5 separate regions of the Homo sapiens genome follow, and all the other regions are linked to region 5. Evidence: promoter capture Hi-C in human tissues and cell types (Jung and others, 2019). All regions are on one chromosome and are shown on one strand. Each heading gives the region's core, a stretch centred on a gene start or on the middle of the fragment in contact. The rest is flanking DNA. Distances are from core to core; before and after follow the strand shown.

The links. Contacts are between HindIII fragments. The study calls those that stand out against the background at their distance.
Region 1: a contact is called between a fragment that was not itself captured here and the fragment with the promoter of DSG2 in region 5, in 1 of the 25 tissues and cell types used here (H1 embryonic stem cells).
Region 2: a contact is called between a fragment that was not itself captured here and the fragment with the promoter of DSG2 in region 5, in 2 of the 25 tissues and cell types used here (H1 embryonic stem cells and mesendoderm cells).
Region 3: a contact is called between the fragment with the promoter of DSC1 here and the fragment with the promoter of DSG2 in region 5, in 1 of the 25 tissues and cell types used here (H1 embryonic stem cells).
Region 4: a contact is called between a fragment that was not itself captured here and the fragment with the promoter of DSG2 in region 5, in 1 of the 25 tissues and cell types used here (H1 embryonic stem cells).

The regions. Positions count from the first base shown.
Region 1 is chr18:31,072,278-31,076,206 of GRCh38, reverse strand. It overlaps DSC2 (desmocollin 2), which reads left to right. Exons shown (of 16, transcript NM_024422.6): 12 at 1,300-1,524. It also overlaps the pseudogene LOC124904377. Among named protein-coding and RNA genes, the nearest start is that of DSCAS, 27 kb to the left of the region's middle. The HindIII fragment of the contact is 3,989 bases long and covers 667-3,929 here.
Region 2 is chr18:31,221,611-31,225,173 of GRCh38, reverse strand. No RefSeq gene overlaps it. Among named protein-coding and RNA genes, the nearest start is that of DSC1, 61 kb to the right of the region's middle. The HindIII fragment of the contact is 4,613 bases long and covers 1-3,563 here.
Region 3 is chr18:31,160,334-31,164,422 of GRCh38, reverse strand. It overlaps DSC1 (desmocollin 1), which reads left to right and starts at 1,567. Exons shown (of 16, transcript NM_024421.2): 1 at 1,567-1,891. The coding sequence starts at 1,829. It overlaps DSCAS (DSC1/DSC2 antisense RNA), which reads right to left. Exons shown (of 4, transcript NR_110785.1): 4 at 1,634-1,888. The HindIII fragment of the contact is 13,832 bases long and covers 1-4,089 here.
Region 4 is chr18:31,087,372-31,091,196 of GRCh38, reverse strand. DSC2 (desmocollin 2) reads left to right here. Exons shown (of 16, transcript NM_024422.6): 4 at 50-169; 5 at 1,603-1,758; 6 at 3,384-3,528. Among named protein-coding and RNA genes, the nearest start is that of DSCAS, 12 kb to the left of the region's middle. The HindIII fragment of the contact is 6,527 bases long and covers 1-3,825 here.
Region 5 is chr18:31,496,403-31,500,328 of GRCh38, reverse strand. DSG2 (desmoglein 2) reads right to left here and starts at 2,152. Exons shown (of 15, transcript NM_001943.5): 1 at 2,033-2,152. The coding sequence starts at 2,077. RefSeq lists a silencer at 1,953-2,422 and an enhancer at 2,623-2,762. The HindIII fragment of the contact is 8,335 bases long and covers 253-3,926 here.

The DNA.
Region 1 (3,929 bases), core at 1,412-3,911, 420 kb after region 5:
GTGCTCTGGCTGAGGTTGTGACTTCAGGGATGTGCTCGGAGATCTTCCCGAGCTTGGCAGCTTCATATAAGACACAGCCCCAGGCAGTGGATGGCACAGGGTTTTTAAATTCTGTTTTCCACCTGTAATGTCAAAAGCCTTCTTTTTAAACAGAAAGAATGAATGATTTAGAGACAGAACTCCTGGGTTTGTGTTCAGTTTCAGACTTCACAACTGCATTACTAATCTGTGGCGTGGGTCCATGGCTGTTTCATCTTTGAATCCCCCAGATTTTCCAGTGCAGTGCTTTATATAAAGTCGTCATCCTGTAAGTTTCTTTCTTTCTTTTCTTTTCTTTTCTTTCTTTTTTTCGTTTTGAGATGGAGTTTCACTTTTGTTGTCCAGGCTGGAGTGCAATGGTGTGATCTCCGCTCACTGCAACCTCCGCCTCCCGGGTTCAAGCGATTCTCTTGCCTCAACCTCCCGAGTAGCTGATATTATAGGCATGTGCCACCATGCCTGGCTAATTTTGTATTTTTAGTAGAGATAGGCTTTCTCCATGTTGGTCAGGCTGGTCTCGAACTCCTGACCTCAGGTGATCTGCCCACCTCGGCTTCCCAAAGTGCTGGGATTACAGGCGTGAGCCACTGTGCCCCGTCTATCCTGTAAGTTTCTATTGAATATACAGATAGATGAATTACTTAGGCTACAACCCACAGTGATTATTTCAGTTTTCAAGTAATTTTCTACTCCTGGAGTCTTCTGCCCTTTGAATATTCCCATGTACTATTTTTGTTACAATCTTTCAAATATGTAACTTCAGTTTCTTTGCTCCAAAACCTAAGTGCTACCTATTTATCCAACAAACTCTAAGCTCCCTAGTCTGGCTTTCAAAGACCCTTAGCTCCTGCTTCCATGTCAGTTTCTACCTGTCTACCTTCCCTGTCATTGTCTCCAGATCACGGGTGTGTATAACGTGCGTTTCCATCTCCTTGAATTTCCTTGTGCTTTTAAATATACCAGAAGTGTCCTCATTCATACTCTCTTCCTTCCTCTTCTCACAAATCAGCCAAAACTTGCCTCTAATAATAATTTAGCGAATGAATAAACACATCTTAATAGCAGTCATTGTTTGTACAACCCATATGAAAGTAATACTATTTTTCTTGTAACATTCCCTGAGGACATAGCTTGTGACTGCTTGTCATTGTAACTTCTACATTATAGGTGCTTAATAAATATTTTTCAATGTGTTCAGTGCATACTTTTGTGGTGAAAACTCAAAACATAGAAAAACTATTTTTATTTTCATTTTTCTAGGAGGGAGAACATGTACGGGGACACTGGGCATTATACTTCAAGACGTGAATGATAACAGCCCATTCATACCTAAAAAGACAGTGATCATCTGCAAACCCACCATGTCATCTGCGGAGATTGTTGCGGTTGATCCTGATGAGCCTATCCATGGCCCACCCTTTGACTTTAGTCTGGAGAGTTCTACTTCAGAAGTACAGAGAATGTGGAGACTGAAAGCAATTAATGGTATATATTTTTGAAAATTGCTTTGTCCTTTTCAACATCAGGATGTCTGCGATACTTTTTTTTTTTTGTATGAAATAGGAGAAAATTCACCATGTGGGAAACACCAATGAAAGTTTCTCAGTTTTTGTGTGTTGGGAGTAGGTCTCTCTAGTGTGTCTCTAATCCTATGCCGAGATTCCCTTAGGTGTGTTGTGAATTCTCCCTCCTACTCCAAACACACACACACACACACACACACACACACACACACACACACACACATTTTTTCTCTTTCTCTCTTTCTCTCTCTTAGACTTGGTCTAATGCAGTCATTTCCTAACTTGTGTACCTCTCACTGGCATAGATTTCTTTATAGTTTCCTGGGTCATAAGGGAGTCCTCATTTGTTACTGGTTGGCTCTCCAGAAAGCAGACCCTGAGGCAGGGCATCTCAAGCAGAATGATGACTAAGGAATTTGCTTGGGATCAGTAGCTTTGAAAGGAGGAGAAGTAGGATTGGGCAAAAAGAGAAGTCAAGCTGCAGCACAAGCCAAATGACAACCTCAGTGAACCCCAGGGGGAGTCTGAGCTAAATGGGCCTTCAGAGTGGTCCTGAATCGATCCCCTATTCTCTCTTATTGTTCCATCAGTGTATGTGGGCTGCCCATGGCAAAAAGGCACAATCCCGGAAGGTGCTGATGGCCTCCCAAGCAGCTGGGATGCAAGTCCTTCTTTGAAAAGGGATCAGATATACACCACAGTGTCCACCACGTTATCTCTCCTCTCTGCCACTGTATTGACTTCTGACTATTTCATGTCTATTGTATTCTCCTTGGGATTCTCCCCTAACTCGGTTCCCCATGTGTACTTTTGTCTTTAGCCCAGAAGGATCTACAGTGATAAGTATGGCAAAAATGAAGGCAACCTGTCTACATTATCACCACTGCCTCATTCCCTAGTTGGCGCGTAACTCTTCAGCATGTTCCCCATCTCCTGCTCACACTGCCTATGGACCATGATGTCATGGTCTACCAGCTTTCGTGACTCTAGAACCACTGAATGAGGCTTGCTTTTTAAATGCCCTTGAATGTTTTTCAGCCCCATGCTTTCAGTGAATATCCCTCAATTTCCTGTTATGACAAATTAGAAAAGAAAGGTTATGAGGGAACGTAAAGGGAGAACAGGATGGGGAAAAGAAAGATGAAGACTTATAGAAATAAGCTAAACTACTATGTCTTGGATCCTGCTCTGTGAACTAACAAGATTTTCAGCTTTCTAAACAATATTCTGTTGTGTGTGCGTGTGTGTGTGTGTGTGTGTGTGTGTGTGTGCGTGTGTGTGTATCGGGGTTATCAGTTTATTTTGGGGTGGGGAGGAAGAATTAACTTTATTCTTAGATTTTTTTCTTTTCTACTTATTTGGTGTCATGATATTAATTTTTAAATAGTGTTGATAGAAAGTGGACATTTTTTTTTCCCAATAGTCTTACTTAGCAAAATAAAACTTTGGCAGCTGTATGTTTGTCAACATCTTTGTTATTTTAAAGATGTACTTGTCTGAGTAATCACTTATAAGCTTGGGAAACACCCAAGTTTTAAGAAGAATATACCCTAAAGAGGCTTTGAAGTCAGTTAAGCTTAGTGTCAAAAACGCTGGTTCTTCCCTGTTTGTTAGTTAAGTAAATCTGACCGTGCTATTTATTGTCTTTGAGCATCAATTTACTAAAATGGGATTTTTGGGGGAGTAAATGAGATAATGCATGTAATACACCATGACACATTAGGAATTATAAGTTTTGGTTTTGCTAGTCTCATTATAATTTTTTACAAAATAGACTTAACAGGTTAACCATGGCTTCTCTTAAGATGGACTTAATTCAATGTGTTTTTACCCAAGCATTCAAATTTGTATTTAGAGCTTCAAATACTATGCAGAAAATGAGAATGTCATACTGGGCAGCTATGTGGGAGAGGGATTATTCTATGGGACCTGGTATCTGCATTTAGAGTAGTAGTATATCTAGTCTCCAAAACCAAGATTGTATTGGCTTCTAAATTTTTTTTAGTTTTTTATTGTTTTTTTCTTCTTCTAAATTCAAGTCATACAGGTAATGTACTGTTGTCGTAATAAGGTTTGAGAGACGTGTGTCTCACACATGAGCATAAAAACCCTATCATCATGCTTATGCACCATAAAAGCCATAAAAGAATCTGTATGGGCTTTCGGTTCTAGATATTTTCTAGCCTTTATCTAAGAAAACTACATCAAAACTAAGACACGTGCAGTTGGTCCCTTTGTCCTTTAGGACCAGGAGATGCAGCTGCAGCTGTGTGACTCATGACCTGCTAATGTAGTCACTGTCAGGGGTGTTTTAAGTTGTCAGAATTAGTCTCTGACAGTAAGTCACAAGTATTTATGTTTATTTGG
Region 2 (3,563 bases), core at 209-2,708, 270 kb after region 5:
GGAAATGTGGTGGCAATTGCTAAAAAGTGGGAACTATTAATAAAGAAAAAGAATCTACTAGAAAAAACAAAGTGGAAATTCTAGAGTTGAAAAATATGTAAATATTGGCTGGGTGCGGTGGCTCACACCTGTTATCCCAGCACTGTGGGAGGCTAAGGCAGGCGGATTGCTTGGGTCCAGGAGTTCGAGACCAGCCCTGGGCAACATGACAAACTCTGTCTCTACAAAACATACTAAAATTGGCCCAGTGTGGTGGCATGCACCTGTAGTCCCAGCTACTCAGCTACTAGGGATGCTGAGATGGGGGAATTGCTTGAGCCTGGAGACCGAGGTTGCATTGAGCTGAGATCAAACCACTGCACTCCAACCTGAGCAACAGAGCAATACCTTGTCTCAAAAAGAAAAAAAAAAAAAAAAGAAAAATATGAAAATGTCTCTAAATGCATTTTTTGAAATATTCAAAAAACTGGAAGCAATTTAATTATCCATCAACTAGTAAGTGACTAAGCAAAATATGCTGTATACACACACATACACACATATTCAATTATATACAAGTTTATTCCTTTTTGATGCTCAGTAGTATTCAATTGTATTCAATCATATATAAGTGAATACTACTGAGCATTAAAAAGGAATAAACTTGTATACATAAATACTCTATAGGAATAAGCAAATACAGGCAAAGAAGCTTTTTGTTTTTGTTTTTGTTTTTTGAGACTGAGTCTCTCTCTATCACCCAGGCTGGAGTGCAGTGGCACTGTCTTGGCTCACCGCAACCTTTGCCTTCCAGGTTCAAGCACTTCTCATGCCTCAGCCTCCCAAGTAGCTGCGATTACAGGCACCCACCACCACGCCCAACTAACTTTTGTATTTTGATAGAGACAGGGTTTCACCATATTGGCCAGGCTGGTCTCGAACTCCTGATCTCAAGTGATCCACCTACCTCGGCCGCCCAAAGTGCTGAGATTACAGGCGTGAGCCACCAGGCCGGCTGGCAAACAGGTTTAAATAATGTGTTTGTAATATCTTTTAGAGAATGTGTACACATCAGAATGGGTGACATTATGCTGTGGTAAGAAACAACCTGGATGATTTATGATTTAAATCAGGGGTCCGCAAACTTTTTGGCACCAGGGAGCAGTTTTGTGGAAGATGGTTTTTCCATGGATGGGGTGGTGGGTGGTGGGGATGGTTTGGCGATGGTTCAAGTGCATTACATTTATTGTGCACTTTATTTCTTTAATTGTTACATTGTAATATTAATATATAATGAAAGAATTATACAACTTACCATAATGTAGAATCAGTAGGAGCCCCGAGCTTGTTTTCCTGCAACTAGACGGTCCCATCTGGGGGTGATGGGAGACAGTGAAAGATCATCAGGCAGTAGAGTCTCATAAGGAGCGCACAACCTAGATTCCTCACATGTACAGTTCACAGTAGGGTTCGAGCTGCTATGAGAATCCAGTGTTGCTGCTGATCTGACAGGAGGCCAAGTTCAGGTGGTAATGTGAGTGACGGGAAAGGCTGTAAATACAAATGAAGCTTCACTTGTTTGCCCGCTGCTTATCTCCTGCTGTGTGGTCGAGTTCTTAACAGGCCACAGACCAGTACCGGTCTGTGGCCTAGGCACTGGGACTTGTATACAATTGTACACTGCTGCTTCTACCAGCAGTGTAAAAGTGTTTCCTTTTCACCACATCCATGCTAAAATCTATTTTTTTTTATTTTTAAATGATGGCCATTCTTGCAGGAGTAAGGTGGTATAGCATTGTGGTTTTAATTTGCATTTCTCTGGTAATTAGTGATGCTGAACATTTTTCATATGTTCGTTGGCCATTTGTATATCTTCTTTTGAGAACCCTCTATTCATGTCCTTAGTCCACTCTTTGATAGAATTGTTCCTTTTTTTCTTGCTGATTTGTTTGAGTTCCTTGTAGATTCTGGATATTAGTCCTTTGTTAGATGCATAGTTTGCAAATATTTTCTCCCACTCTATGGATTGTCTGTTTACTCTGCTGATTATTTCTTTTGCTGTGTAGAAGATTTTTAGTTTAATTAAGTCTCATCTATTTATTTTTGCTTTTTTTGCATTTGCTTTTGGGTTCTTGACCATGAACTCTTTGCCTAAGCCAATGTCTAGAAGAGTTTTTCTGATGTTATCTTCTAGAATTTTTATGGTTTCAGGTCTTAGATTTAAGTATTTAATCCATCTTGAGTTGATTTTTGTGTAAGGTGAGAGATGAGGATCCAGTTTCATTCTTCTACATGTGGCTTGCTAGTTATTCCCGCACCATTTGTTGAATAGGGTGTCCTTTTCCCACTTTATGTTTTCATTTGCTTTGTCAAAGATCAGTTGGCTTTAAGTATTTGGCTTTATTTCTGGGTTCTCTATTATCTTCCATTGGTCTACATGCCTATTTTTATACCAGTACCATGCTGTTTGGGTAACTATAGCCTTGTACTATATTTGAATTTGGGGAATGTGATGCCTCCAGATTTGTTCTTGCTTTGGCTATGTGGGTTCTTGTTTGGCTCCATATGAATTGTAGGATTGTTTTTTCTATCCCTGTGAAGAATGGTGATAGTATTTTGATGGAAATAGCATTGAATTTATAGATTGCATTTGGCAGTATGGTCATTTTCACAATATTGATTCTAGCCATCCATGAGCATGGGATATGTTTCCATTTGTTTGTGTCATCTGATTTCTTTCAGCAGTGTTTTTTAGTTTTCCTTGTGGAGATCTTTCCCTTCCTTGGTAAGGCATATTCCTAAGTATTTTTTATTCTTCGCAGCTATTGTAAAAGGGGTTGAGTTCTTGATTTGACTCCCAGCTTGGTCAATATTGGTGTATAGCAGTGCTACGGATTTGTGTACATTGATTTGTATCTTGAAACTTTACTGCATATTTATCAGATCTAGGAGCTTCTTGGATGAGTCTTTGGGGTTTTTTTGTTTGTTTTTTGTTTTTTAGTTTTTTTTTTTTTTTTTTTTTTTTTTTTTTTTGGAGATGGAGTTTCTCTCTTATTGCCCAAGCTGGAGTGCAATGGCACTATTTTGGCTCACTGCAACCTCTGTCTTCTGGGTTCGAGTGATTCTCCTGCCTCAGCCTCCCTAGCAGCTGGGATTACAGGCATGTGCCGCCATGCCTAGTTAATTTTGTATTTTTGGTAGAAACGAGGTTTCACCATGTCAGCCAGACTGGTCTCAAGCTCCTGACCTCAGGTGATCCACCCACCTTGGCCTCCTAAAGTGCTGGGATTACAGGTGTGAGCCACCATGCCTGGCCGTCTTTGGGACTTTCTAAGTATACCATCATATTGTTGGTGAACAGTGACAGTTTGACGTCATATTTACTCATTTGGATGCACTTTATTTCTTTCTCTTGTCTGATTGCTCTGGCTAGGACTTCCAGTACTGTGTTGAATAGAAGTGGTGAAACTGGGTATCCTTGTCTTGTTCCATTTCTCAGGGGGAATGTTTTCAATTTTTCTCCATTCAGTTTAATGTTGGCTGTAGGTTTGTCATAGATGGCTTTTATTACCCTGAGGTATGTG
Region 3 (4,089 bases), core at 318-2,817, 340 kb after region 5:
AGAACTGTGGAGAGTATTCTGGATTCATTTGAATTGAGCAGTGCCTGGAATCTCTTCATCCAACCAATATATGCCATTTTTTCAGTAACACCAATTTAATTTTGCTCTTCTATATCTTCCTAGTTCAGTGGAGAATATCATGTTATAGAAAAAGGTAATGATAACTTCATTAGCTGAAAAAAATGTGTTTCTATTTTCTAGGGTTGGAGAATTTGTCTTTGAATTATTTAAGCTGTATGACTATCTATTTATCTGTCTATCTATCTATCTAAATATATACTTAGATGATGCTTAAACATGCACAGAATTACACTTGGCTGTACACATATACATCTAAGTAATTTTTCTATTTCTATATTCCCATTCTTTTCTCCCAAAACGCCAGATATAAAAATATTCCATTAAAATGACTGTATTTTCTGATTGAGAAATCAAATTCCAATGCAGTCACAAAATATGTTTATTAGTGGGTATACCACTAGCAATAAAATACTACAAGATATCTTTTAGTTTTTTTTCTCCTGGGTCATTCATTTTCCAAATCTTCCTAGCTTCTAATTCTAATGAAGCAGTTACATTTATTTCTGTCTCTACATACAAGGAGAAATTGTTCCCATTGTCAAATAAGCTGAAGAAAACCTTTCTTTCCTCCCTTCTCAGCAGCATGGGTGTTGGGCTCTACCTTAACATTTGAAAATATTTATCCTTCTGTCCTAACTTCCATCACTGCCATTGAGTGCAATTGGTATCACTGAGCTCACTAATTTGGGACAGGAATAATGATGCTAAAGCTCTTGTTAGAGGAATCATTAGGGTTTAAAAAAATCTACACTTGATGGCCTGATTGTACTATTAAGCTAGGATATCCTATGTGTAATGTACAAGTAATTAGGGTGAATAGAGTGATTTTAGAGAGACTTGCTCTCAAAGATTGTAGTTGTCCTTGAAAAAATATAAAGGTAAAAAGCAGTGGCATCTTGTACAACAAAAGGAAAGCCACAAGAAAGATTATATGCTAGCTATTTCTTTATTCTCTTTCTTTTATGAAGTCTTTACATTCTGATAAGTTTCCTGTGACATCTAGAGAACCAACCACAGTGAATAGTCAATAACAGGAAGTAGATACCATGCCTTTATGAAGTTGCTGCTTTAAACTGGAATGCCAGTTCTCTAGCAGAACTACAGTGTTCTACAGGACCGATGACACTTAAATGCTTAGATGGGAGATAACTTCTGATGAGTGTGATTACACACGCTTAGGTCCTCTGATTTGCCAATGGCAGTTGAGGAGGCATCACTTCCTTGCATGGCGTTTGTGCACAATTTATGTTTGTACCCGAGGGCAAGACAGGTTAATAAGGCCAAGAAGGAGGGGAGGCTGTGGGAGTGGGTAATAACTGGGGAGGACTTCACAGCATCAACCTGGGGGAAAGGGAGGAGGGCTGAGGATGAAGGGTGTTCCCTCCTCCTTCTGCCTATGTGTTAAGTGGCAAGAGAAATTTTGAAAGCTGCTGTGAGGAGGAGCTACTGACTGGGTTTTGGGGTGTTTTGTACCCCACCCTCCTCACTTGTAGGAAAGCCTCTTTGCATTTAGACGTAATTGAACTGGAAGGAAGGAGACTGGCCAGGGAATAGGGGGAAAGAAATTCTCCCGTTGCTCCTCCTACTGTTTATCACTTGCCTCCGGACTGTCTTCCAAACCAAGCTCAGCTGCATCAAGGTGGCAGCAGAATACCCTGTGCAAGTGCCAGCGTCTTCTTAGCCGCTCTGTGCATCCCAGGCTGCCCTGTTATCTGGCCACCGTCCCTGGCCATTGGGACTGCTTCTGATGGCTCTGGCCTCTGCTGCCCCAGGGAGCATCTTCTGTAAGCAGCTCCTTTTCTCTCTCCTGGTGAGTAACAACCAAAGGATTAGGGAATTCAAGCATGTTACTACCTGCTTCCTCTCTGCAGTTTGGGCTTGAAAGAGACTAGGAGTGAGGATGGGAGGCAGAGAAGAGAGATTGGGGAAAACAAAAGCAGATCTGAGGAAGATTCAGGGAAGAGTTGAGAGGCTTGGGATTCAGGATGGAAAGTGTTCAGCTTACTTCTCAAGCACCCACTGCCAGAGTGTTAAAAGTTTTCAAGGGAATCCCTCTTCCATCCTGCTGTGGTGATTTTCTAAGAGTAGAGAAGTGAATTCATTCTTTAGGCATTTGGCCCAGAAGTTTCTGAGGTTTACTTCTGCTACCAGTGATTACATAAACTCATGTTATTTAACATGCTGAGTTCTACTAAGCTGCAAAAAAAGAGAAAGGATTCTGGGTGAACATGCAAATTATCCAGGACTTTTTGAATTTTACCCACGAAGCAGTTTAAGCAAAGAATAGTTTAAGAAAAATAACAAAAATGTGACTGTCATTGAAAATATCCTCAACTTGGCTTCCACTTGGGTTTTTAATAGCTTTGTAACTGTGTAAGGTGCTATTTTTTCTTTGGAGGTGAGGGAAGAGAGGGGGGTTATTTCACACATCCGTCCATCATTTCTGAGGTGTGAGTTTCCTATTTTTTCATTTTAGCAAAATACTTGAGTTTCAAAATATATTTTTAGAAATGGCAGGTATGAGGACAAACATTTTCTCCATGTAAATAATATACAATGCAGGGTTGATGGTCACCTTCTCATCCTGTAACTGCTTAGGGAGACGATAACTCAGATACCATCTTAAGTTAGTACAAGTTTGGTAAAATGTGGTAAAAATGTTTCAAAGGATTCTACCCACATTTCTTTTGCTTCTGATCCCTGTACTGTCTAATATCTCTTGGACAATTCATCTCCTGTTTATTTATTTCTGACTCTGAAACTGACTAAAAGGGTGTCACTAAGCCACTTAGTCAGTGATTTAACCTGAAGACGGGAATAGTATTTAATGAATGGAAACCTTCAGTGGCTCTGCCTGCAGAGGGAGGACCATCAACATGGAATCCTAGGACAAGAAGGAAAGAAGATGGGGGTGGGAGTGGAAGTGTGGATATAACTATAAGAATGTCTCATATATTTATATATATATATGTACATTTATATATATATACACACACGCACATATACAGTCATGCTCTGCAAAACAATGCCTCAGTCAATGATGGACTACATATATGAGTGGTCCCATAGATTATAATGGAGCTCGTCTGTATAGGTGAACCATTTTTTATCTTTTATATTGTATTTTAATGTACTTTTTCTATATCTAAAAATGTTTAGTTACACAAATACTTACAATTGCCTACAGTATTCAGTAGAGGAACATGCTGTACAGGTTTGTAGCTTACAATAAGCTATACTATATACTATACACCTAGGCTGTACCATGGTGCATACCATGGGGCATACATATATAAATCATGGTGTATACCATGTAGGTATAACCCAGGTGTGTAGTAGACTATATCCTCTAAGTGTATGTAAGTATACTCTATGATGTCTGCACAAGGATGAAATCACCTAACGTTGCATTTCTTAGAATGTAAGCAATATATGACTGTGTGTATATATATACACACATACACATACATATATAGGTATAGGTATATGTACAGGTATATGCATATGTATGTGTACATATGTATATGTATGTGTTTATGCATAGCCTAATTACAATATGCTGTTTCCACATTGTATACTTAGACAACTATTAACAGTATGGTCTATGCTTAGAAAGTTCTTTAAGTATAATTTATTATGTTCCTTGGCATTAGGGATGAACATATTTAAAAAGTTAAATAAATACGAATGTCTCACGTTTTAAAAAGTGGTTTTTAAATTAGGACTAAATAAAAATGTGGCCTTTTAATTCCAGATTTCTGCCTAACATAGATTTTTGTAAAATTACAAACTATTTAATTAGACTGCTACAGTATATCTGGTAGACTTGAGATGAGCTGGAAAAGAAGTGCACATCCTTAATATGGATGTTAATCCATTCTCTTTCCTCCTCGCAAGTAATGGGTCCCGTAACTCTAGAATTCAGAGAAAAGCTGAAAGCTGATCATAAAATTGACCTACATGTTTCTGGAAAACCTAGCTCTACTCTATCTTATATTTAAATAATAA
Region 4 (3,825 bases), core at 329-2,828, 410 kb after region 5:
AATAAAGTAGTCATTGACTTTATTATTTTTTCCTGTCTTATGAATTGAGGTCCTAAAGAAAAGACATACTAAAGAAAAAGTTCTAAGGCGCGCCAAGAGAAGATGGGCTCCAATTCCTTGTTCGATGCTAGAAAACTCCTTGGGTCCTTTTCCACTTTTCCTTCAACAGGTACCGTTTTCTTTCTTTCTGCTGTGGGAGTCTATAGTTTCCATCTCTTACCATTATGACACTGAGTATGAAGTTATTTGTAATAGTTGTGTATAAATATGTGAGTGAATGAGTATGTGTATAATATGTTTCCATATAAGGGTATAAATATATCTCTTTATACTTGCATACACTTTTGTTCAGCTTGCAAAGGCCAAGCATAAAACTGTGGCACTCAGACACATGGTTCCTTAATGAATTGTCACATCAGCAAGGGTATCGCCAAGCCTAAGAATAGCTAGAAAACCCAAAACTCTCTTGCATAATAAAGGAGAAAATTGGATGAAAGACCAAATGCCACGAAGGAGGAAGACACATAGGCCCTTCTATCTTTCTATTTCTTGTTCTTGAATCTACATCTGAAATCACACTGGATCCACATTTCTTTCTCTCTCTCTCTGTCTCTGTCTCTTTTTGTTTCTTTTTTTTTGTAGCGATGAGATCTCACTATGTTGCTTAGGCTGGTTTTGAACTCCTAGGCTGAAATGATCTCCCATCTCAACCTCCCAAAATGCTGGGATTACAGGCATGAGCCAAGCATACCTGGCTCTTTTTCTCTGTCTTGTTTTAACTTTCAGTAGAAACCCCAGCAAGCCTTCTTGCCTTCTTCCATTACTGGTGGCTACTACATTCAGTCTATGACTTTGGTTTATTTTCCCTCAGTTCTTGACATAGCAAGGGAGAATCCTTTTTATACCCCACCAACAAATTTAATACAGCTGAGAGAAGAGCATATTAAAGTTGAGAAATTGTTAGAAAACAGTTGTGTCAGTTATCCTGATATAAAGATAGGATGTTACTGAGAGGATGAACACAGCTTGGAGGAAATTTGCTTTTCGAATCAAGGATCAGAATATTACACATTCCAAAATATTATTCCATTTCTATTCTCACTCATATTTTTTTTTTTACTCAGTTCCTATAAGGAAGATGTTGGCAAAGAACAAAAAACTCATTAAGGAAATTATTGTCCACATTTTTGCCCTGCAGACAGTACACTTTAAACTCGGTTCTTAAATGTTATGTTACATATAATAAAAACTCAGTTTTTTAAAACATTGACGACAGAATAATTTTCCATGCTCAGAATACTTTGTTTTCTAAGACAGGAAGAGTCTTAAGTGTTTTTTCCATGTATAGACACCATCTAGCCTGTCAAATATTCCTTTAGTTATTCTGGAGAACTAAGATGCACTACATTATTTTACTCATGCCTTGCTCTTGAAATTTCTCAATTGGACTTTCTTATTCTATTGCTGTTTTAATTTATATATAATAATAAATTAAGGGCAATTATTTAAACTAATAAAATGGCAATGAGATTTCATAAATATATAGATGAAAGCTCTGCTGAAATAAAGATTTGTCTCATGTATATAATATCTACTTTCTAGGTTCAATCTGACACGGCCCAAAACTATACCATATACTATTCCATAAGAGGTCCTGGAGTTGACCAAGAACCTCGGAATTTATTTTATGTGGAGAGAGACACTGGAAACTTGTATTGTACTCGTCCTGTAGATCGTGAGCAGTATGAATCTTTTGAGGTAAAGTCTAAAATGTGTGTACTGTATTAGCAATGATGATGCTTGGCCATTTTGTCTCTCATTTGCAATTCACGTAACCTTTTCTGCTTTCTGAGTTTGTCACCAATGCTCTGGCTACTCCCTAATAGCACATAATTGACTTGAAACAAAAAATATTTTCATAGAATAAATAATATTGGATTCCATTAGATTGTTCCTGGTATTATGGTTTTACTATTTTTTTTTCCCCCACAACAGTACCACTTTGAAGAACAGTTTTTTTTTTTTTTTTTTTGAGACAGCATCTCACTTTGCCACCCAGGCTGAAGTGCAGTGGCGTAATCTCGGCTCACTGCAATCTCTGGCTCCGGGGTTCAAGTGATCCTCCCACCTTAGCCTCCTGAGTAGCTGGGATCACAGGCACGCACCATGATACCCAGCTAATTTTTTGTATTTTTAGTAGAGATGGGGTTTCACCATGTTGGCCAGGCTGGTCTCAAGCTCTTGACCTCAGGTGATCTGCCCATGTCGGCCTCCCAAAGTGCTGGGATTACAGGACTGAGCCACCGTGCCCGGCCAAGAACAGTTACTTAGTTGGCACAAAAAGATCTGTGAACCTCTTTATAGTATGGAGATATCATAGGAGGTAAATGAAGTTCAGTCATTAAGTAAACCTCAGTACCCTGGCAATGGGAGAGCATTAGTTTATGGGGAGCAGGTAGGGGGTGTGACAGTGCTTACCTAAGCTTACTCAGTCCTTTAATCATCTGGTTAATTTCCTATGCTGGAAAGTGAGTTAATATGAAAGAATTTAACCTAATGCTGGTTTGATTTCCCAACAGGACTTGGTCATTTTGCTTAAGTCAGTTTTAATTATTTTATGTCTATTTTGGATGAATTAATTATTCATTAGAAGACCAAATTAATCAAATAAGACAGGCAAGCTTTGAATAAAGTATTTAGGTTTAGAATTGCCATGGCCTGGCCTTCTGAGTACCTAGGATGTTCTGGCCTTTCTATGATAGCTGTTATGAGAAAATTGGTATTGAAATTCATATTATAAAAACAAAAAAATTAAACTGTATTCCACCACAGTTTACCACCATTCATTTGTTTCATTTCTGATTCACCCTTTTTAAATTAAAAATTCTTTGAAAAGACTTACCCAAATGTAACCATTGATATGCCTAAAGTCCTCATTAGTAGAAAATAGGATAATATCCCAGTTAACTGTACCTGGGTAATCCTACAGGATCCCAAGTTCAGAAAGATCCAGAAAGTTGTATTTAAAATCCATGCACCTGAACCTTTCAAACAAAGCAAAATAAAGAAGTCTTCAAGGCTGTTTGGGAAAATAACAGTAAAAATTGTTACACTCATGAATAACAGTATAGCAATAATGAAGAAACTAAAATTATCTTTCATAAATTTAAAGAGATAAATTTAAACATACAATGCCATATTGAATCATGAAATTAGGCACCTCTTTGGCATTAAAATTATATCCATATCCCAGAACAATAACAAATGGTGAGACTCATACTGTAGTTCTGAACAGTCTCCAAGTTAAAGCCAAAATGAATTTGAAGCATACCTCATTTTAAAAGATTATTTTCACTTTTCTCCTTATTTTACTCTCTTCACAGATAATTGCCTTTGCAACAACTCCAGATGGGTATACTCCAGAACTTCCACTGCCCCTAATAATCAAAATAGAGGATGAAAATGATAACTACCCAATTTTTACAGAAGAAACTTATACTTTTACAATTTTTGAAAATTGCAGAGTGGGTGAGTACCTCCTTAAACAATATATGGCAAATTAACTGTGTTTCAATTCATACATTTAGTTTCACTATGTCCGTTGAGAAGCAGCGTATCCCAGCAGCAAGAATAAGGGACTCTGGGTGGAATTTTACTCTGTGTTTCACTAGCTGTGTGATGCTTGGCAAATTTCCTAATCTTGGCAAGCCTAATTTCTTCATCTGTAAAATGGGTTATCAGTATGCCAGATTGTTATGAAGATGAAGTGAAGCTCAATACACAGCGAATGCCAAGCACAGTGCCTGACAAATAGGAGTTAATAAA
Region 5 (3,926 bases), core at 903-3,402:
ACAGGAGAGGCAGCAGCTCCCTAAGCGGTGTGGCTCTGCTGTGTGGCTTTGAAGTCATTACTGACAGCTCAAATGGCAGTCTTCTCAATCCTTCCTACACTTAGGTAGTCAGTTTAGTGCCCCGAAATAAACCTATTCTTGCTTTAAATAGCTAGAGTAAATTCCGTTATTTGCAACTGAACTCTGATCTAACAGACTACAATTTATATTCCTTCCAATAAAGGACCTGTTTCCTTGGCAACTACTTCTGTCAGATGAGTTGCTTTCCATTTTTTTTTTTTTTTTTTTTTTTACCAAAAAACTGCAACTGCAAACACACTGGGGGTAAAATGCTGCATTGCCCACTACTCTCTGGACAAAAATAAACATATTCAAATTTATACTGCAGAAAGTTTTATAGAAAATACATAGAACAGTCCAAGAATTTTGCTCCTGTTCCATTGGCTATAGTCGCTTTCTAAAGGAGATGTTTATTACTGCCCAATAAGGTAAAAGTATCAAATTGCTAAAATGAAAGATATGCCTAATTTGCTTACCTGCTACTCTGTGAGTGTACAAATTGGCCTGATTGCTACATTATTTGAAGATTAAAGGTCATTTATTTTCATATATGGAAAGAATATGTAACTCTCAAAGTAAGCTAGGTGTTACATTAGCTTGGGATTCTCCTTAAACAAGGAAACATCAAGGTGACAGGATTAGTTGTTTTGCCAGCCCAGAGGCTAAAAACGACGTCCCAGATCACGTCTTAGAAAAGTTTTGTCAACAAAATGAATTTTCATTGAAAGTTACCTCAAGGACACGGGGAAAATGAAATGGATAAATAGAGCATGAAAATGAACTGTGTGCTAGGCCTGGACGCCCTAATTATCATGCTCTTCCACCTGAGAGTTCATGGAAATCTCTAGACTGGATTCAGTCACGCCTTTTTCCGTTTTGAGACACACACACACACACACACACACACACACGATTTTCTTCCACATCCCACCAAAACTCGAGGATAGAAGGGCTCATGTTTTGGAAGTTAGAACTTTGAATATAGTGAATGTATTTGCATTTTTAATTATTACGTAAGAAAACTGAGTATGATTTTGCATCTAATCTCTGTAAACACATATTTGTGAACTCTCTGGAAGGTGAACTCACACCTATATTTGCAGCATAACTGTCACTTTATTAAAACCCCTTTAGTAAACCCCTATAAGCGAGATACATACGTGCAACCCCTTAAACAAACAGAAAACCAACAGTTTAAAATCCAATTTGAGCAAAAGAACTCTAAATCCAGGGACTGAACGTCGTTTCCGGGAGTGAGGGGTGGGGCGTGGGGGAGGGGGCGCTACACTTCCATTTTCTGTAACCTTTTAAATGAATAAGGCTTCAAACTATTACATATGTTTATTATCTTTAATATTGGAAAACTTTTGAAACACCAACTTCATAAACTTTAAGTTAAAACTATATGTGGGTGATCCACTTAAAATTAAGCTTTGTAAATTACACCTTTTTAAAAAATTTTTAGCCAACTTTTTGCACTCTAAGAATACAAGTATGTTCCTGGTTTCCCCAGTTCACTGGCTTGTGTCGGCGGCTAGAGGAGCTGGGGAATCCTAGGGAAATTTAAGGAACGTGGAAGAAGCGCGAGGTTGTTCCCTATTGCCTCCACGTTTCTCGTCCCAGAGACTCTCAACAAAGCCTCCGACCCCCAGCAATGGTGTTCCCCGCCCCAGGGCTCACTACACCCACACACCACAGAAAAGGGCGCTGGGGCCTGGGTGACGCGGGAAGGAAAACACAACTTCGATAGGTCGCAACTTACTCTCCTGGCTCCAGCCAAGAGGATTTTCCGAAGCCCCAGGTCGGATCTCGCCGCAGCCTGCCCGGCCCTTTTCCCCCCTCGGGCAGCAGGAAGGAGCGCCGGGCAGGTAACGCGCACAAGGGCGGCGGGCAAGTCTGGTCGCGAGGTCTAGACCTCGCCTACCGACGCCCTCCCCGGCGGTGGCTCCCCTGTCCCGCTTGCGGCACTTACCAGGAGAAGCAGCAGGGCGTACGCGCGTCCCGGGCTCCGCGCCATCGCACCCTCGCCTCCGCCTCCCGCCGCCGCACCGCTCCGCGCCGCCGCCTGCCCCGAGCGCGCACTCGGCTCCTCCCTGGCCCCGGCCTCCCCCCGGCCCGGCCACCCTCTCCCTCCCCGCCCCGAGGGCTGTCTTCCCGTGGCGGTTGCGCGGCCCAGCCCAGCCCAACCCAAAGGCGCGGCTCCAGGTGTGGCCGCCGCGAGAAAATGGAGCCGGGGGCCGGCCCGGGCCGCTTTTACAGAGGTGGGGAGTTCAGCAGAGGAGGGAGGCGCGGGGTGGACTCCCGCCCGCTCGCACTCGCACCTGGGACCGTGACGTCCTTGGGTTGGGGACTGTGGGTGGCAGGCCCCGCCCCGCCGTTCTCTCCTTCCCGACCCCCTACTCTCTGGAGAATGGCGGGAGGAGGGAGCCTCCTGGCGGGGCTCGACCTGGGTAGCGCGGGTCGCAGGGCCCCGGCCCAAGGACAAAAGCTCCACGGAGCAGAGTCCTGCGGGACCAACCGGCCCAGTGGCTGCGGGGCCAGGCCGCCCAGCACCGCCCAAAGGTCCCGCACTTTGTGATTGTGCTTTGGGCCCGGAGCGCAGGTGTCGCTAGTGACATGGGGACCCGTGTCCTCAGGAAAGCTGCGACCGCGGTGCGTTCGGCCCGCTCTCCTGGAGCGGAGGTTGTGGAGCAGAATTTCAGGTGGCTGTCTCCCCAAAGGCTGCTCTTCCCTATGGCCCTTCACTGCTTCCAACAGGTTTGCAGCTTATCTGGCTCAAGGAGAAACAATCACCAGAGGTCAAAAAGGACAATTCTTGGGCTAGGAGAAAACTCTAGGGTGTTACGGGAAATATATATATTCTTTGAAATGATTTACAATTTCTATTACACCACTAGCTAGATCAGAGGCCCCGCTCCAAGAGTGACTAGCTGAGTGGCCTGGACTAGCCTCTCTGGGCCCCAGTTTCCAGATCTGTCAAATGGAGTTAATAGCGACCAACGCACGGGGAAGTTTTGAGAACGAAATTGGAAAATCTTAGGTAAAGCATTCTGCAGTGTCTAGAACTTAAGGGTTCAATAAATAATTGTTAAAATTAGAACAACGTGATTGCGAGGTGAGATGTTAAATTGACATCTTGAAAAGCAGAAACTTAGTATGGGCATCCAAACACTAGAATCAGCACCGGATTACGAAACTTCCAAGAAATGTAACGACTGAAAGTAATGGACGAGCCTATTGTTCTGTGCGAGAAAGGCGCAAGGGGAGAAGAAAAGACACACACACCATACTTTTAAGGGTAAACAACCTTTATCCCAATTAAATGGCAACGCGGATATAATAAGCAAATGATATAATAAGCAAATTGCAATGGGAAGGGGAGAAGGAAAAGATATATTTATAGGTACACTCACCAGACTGTGGAGGATTCACCACCACACCGGGAAGCAACAGCCTGGGCTCCAGAGTCGGACACTACACTCACCAGACTACAGAGGATTCTCATGAAGTTTCCTCATGGTCTGGGACCCTAGCTCTTATCGTAACAAGTTGTTTGGCATGAGACCCAGTCACAAGGGCCCTTCCCGACTGGACTCAAGGAACACAAAAAGGTCAACTTGTGTTTGCGATTGTCTGTTGTGTTTCAATAACTAACAAATAGGAATTTAAATAGAGATTTATTTGAAACAGCGCTCGATGAATTCCTCAAGGGGCTCACACCACCTGTTCTGGGACTTGGTGGCCATTGTTTGTGTCCATGTTCAATTGAGTTCAAATTTAATATTTAAGTTTTCCTCCACATTCGGCTTCAATCTGATACTCAATCGCAGGAAAATACCCCTACAGATACATGGGGAAGGCATAGT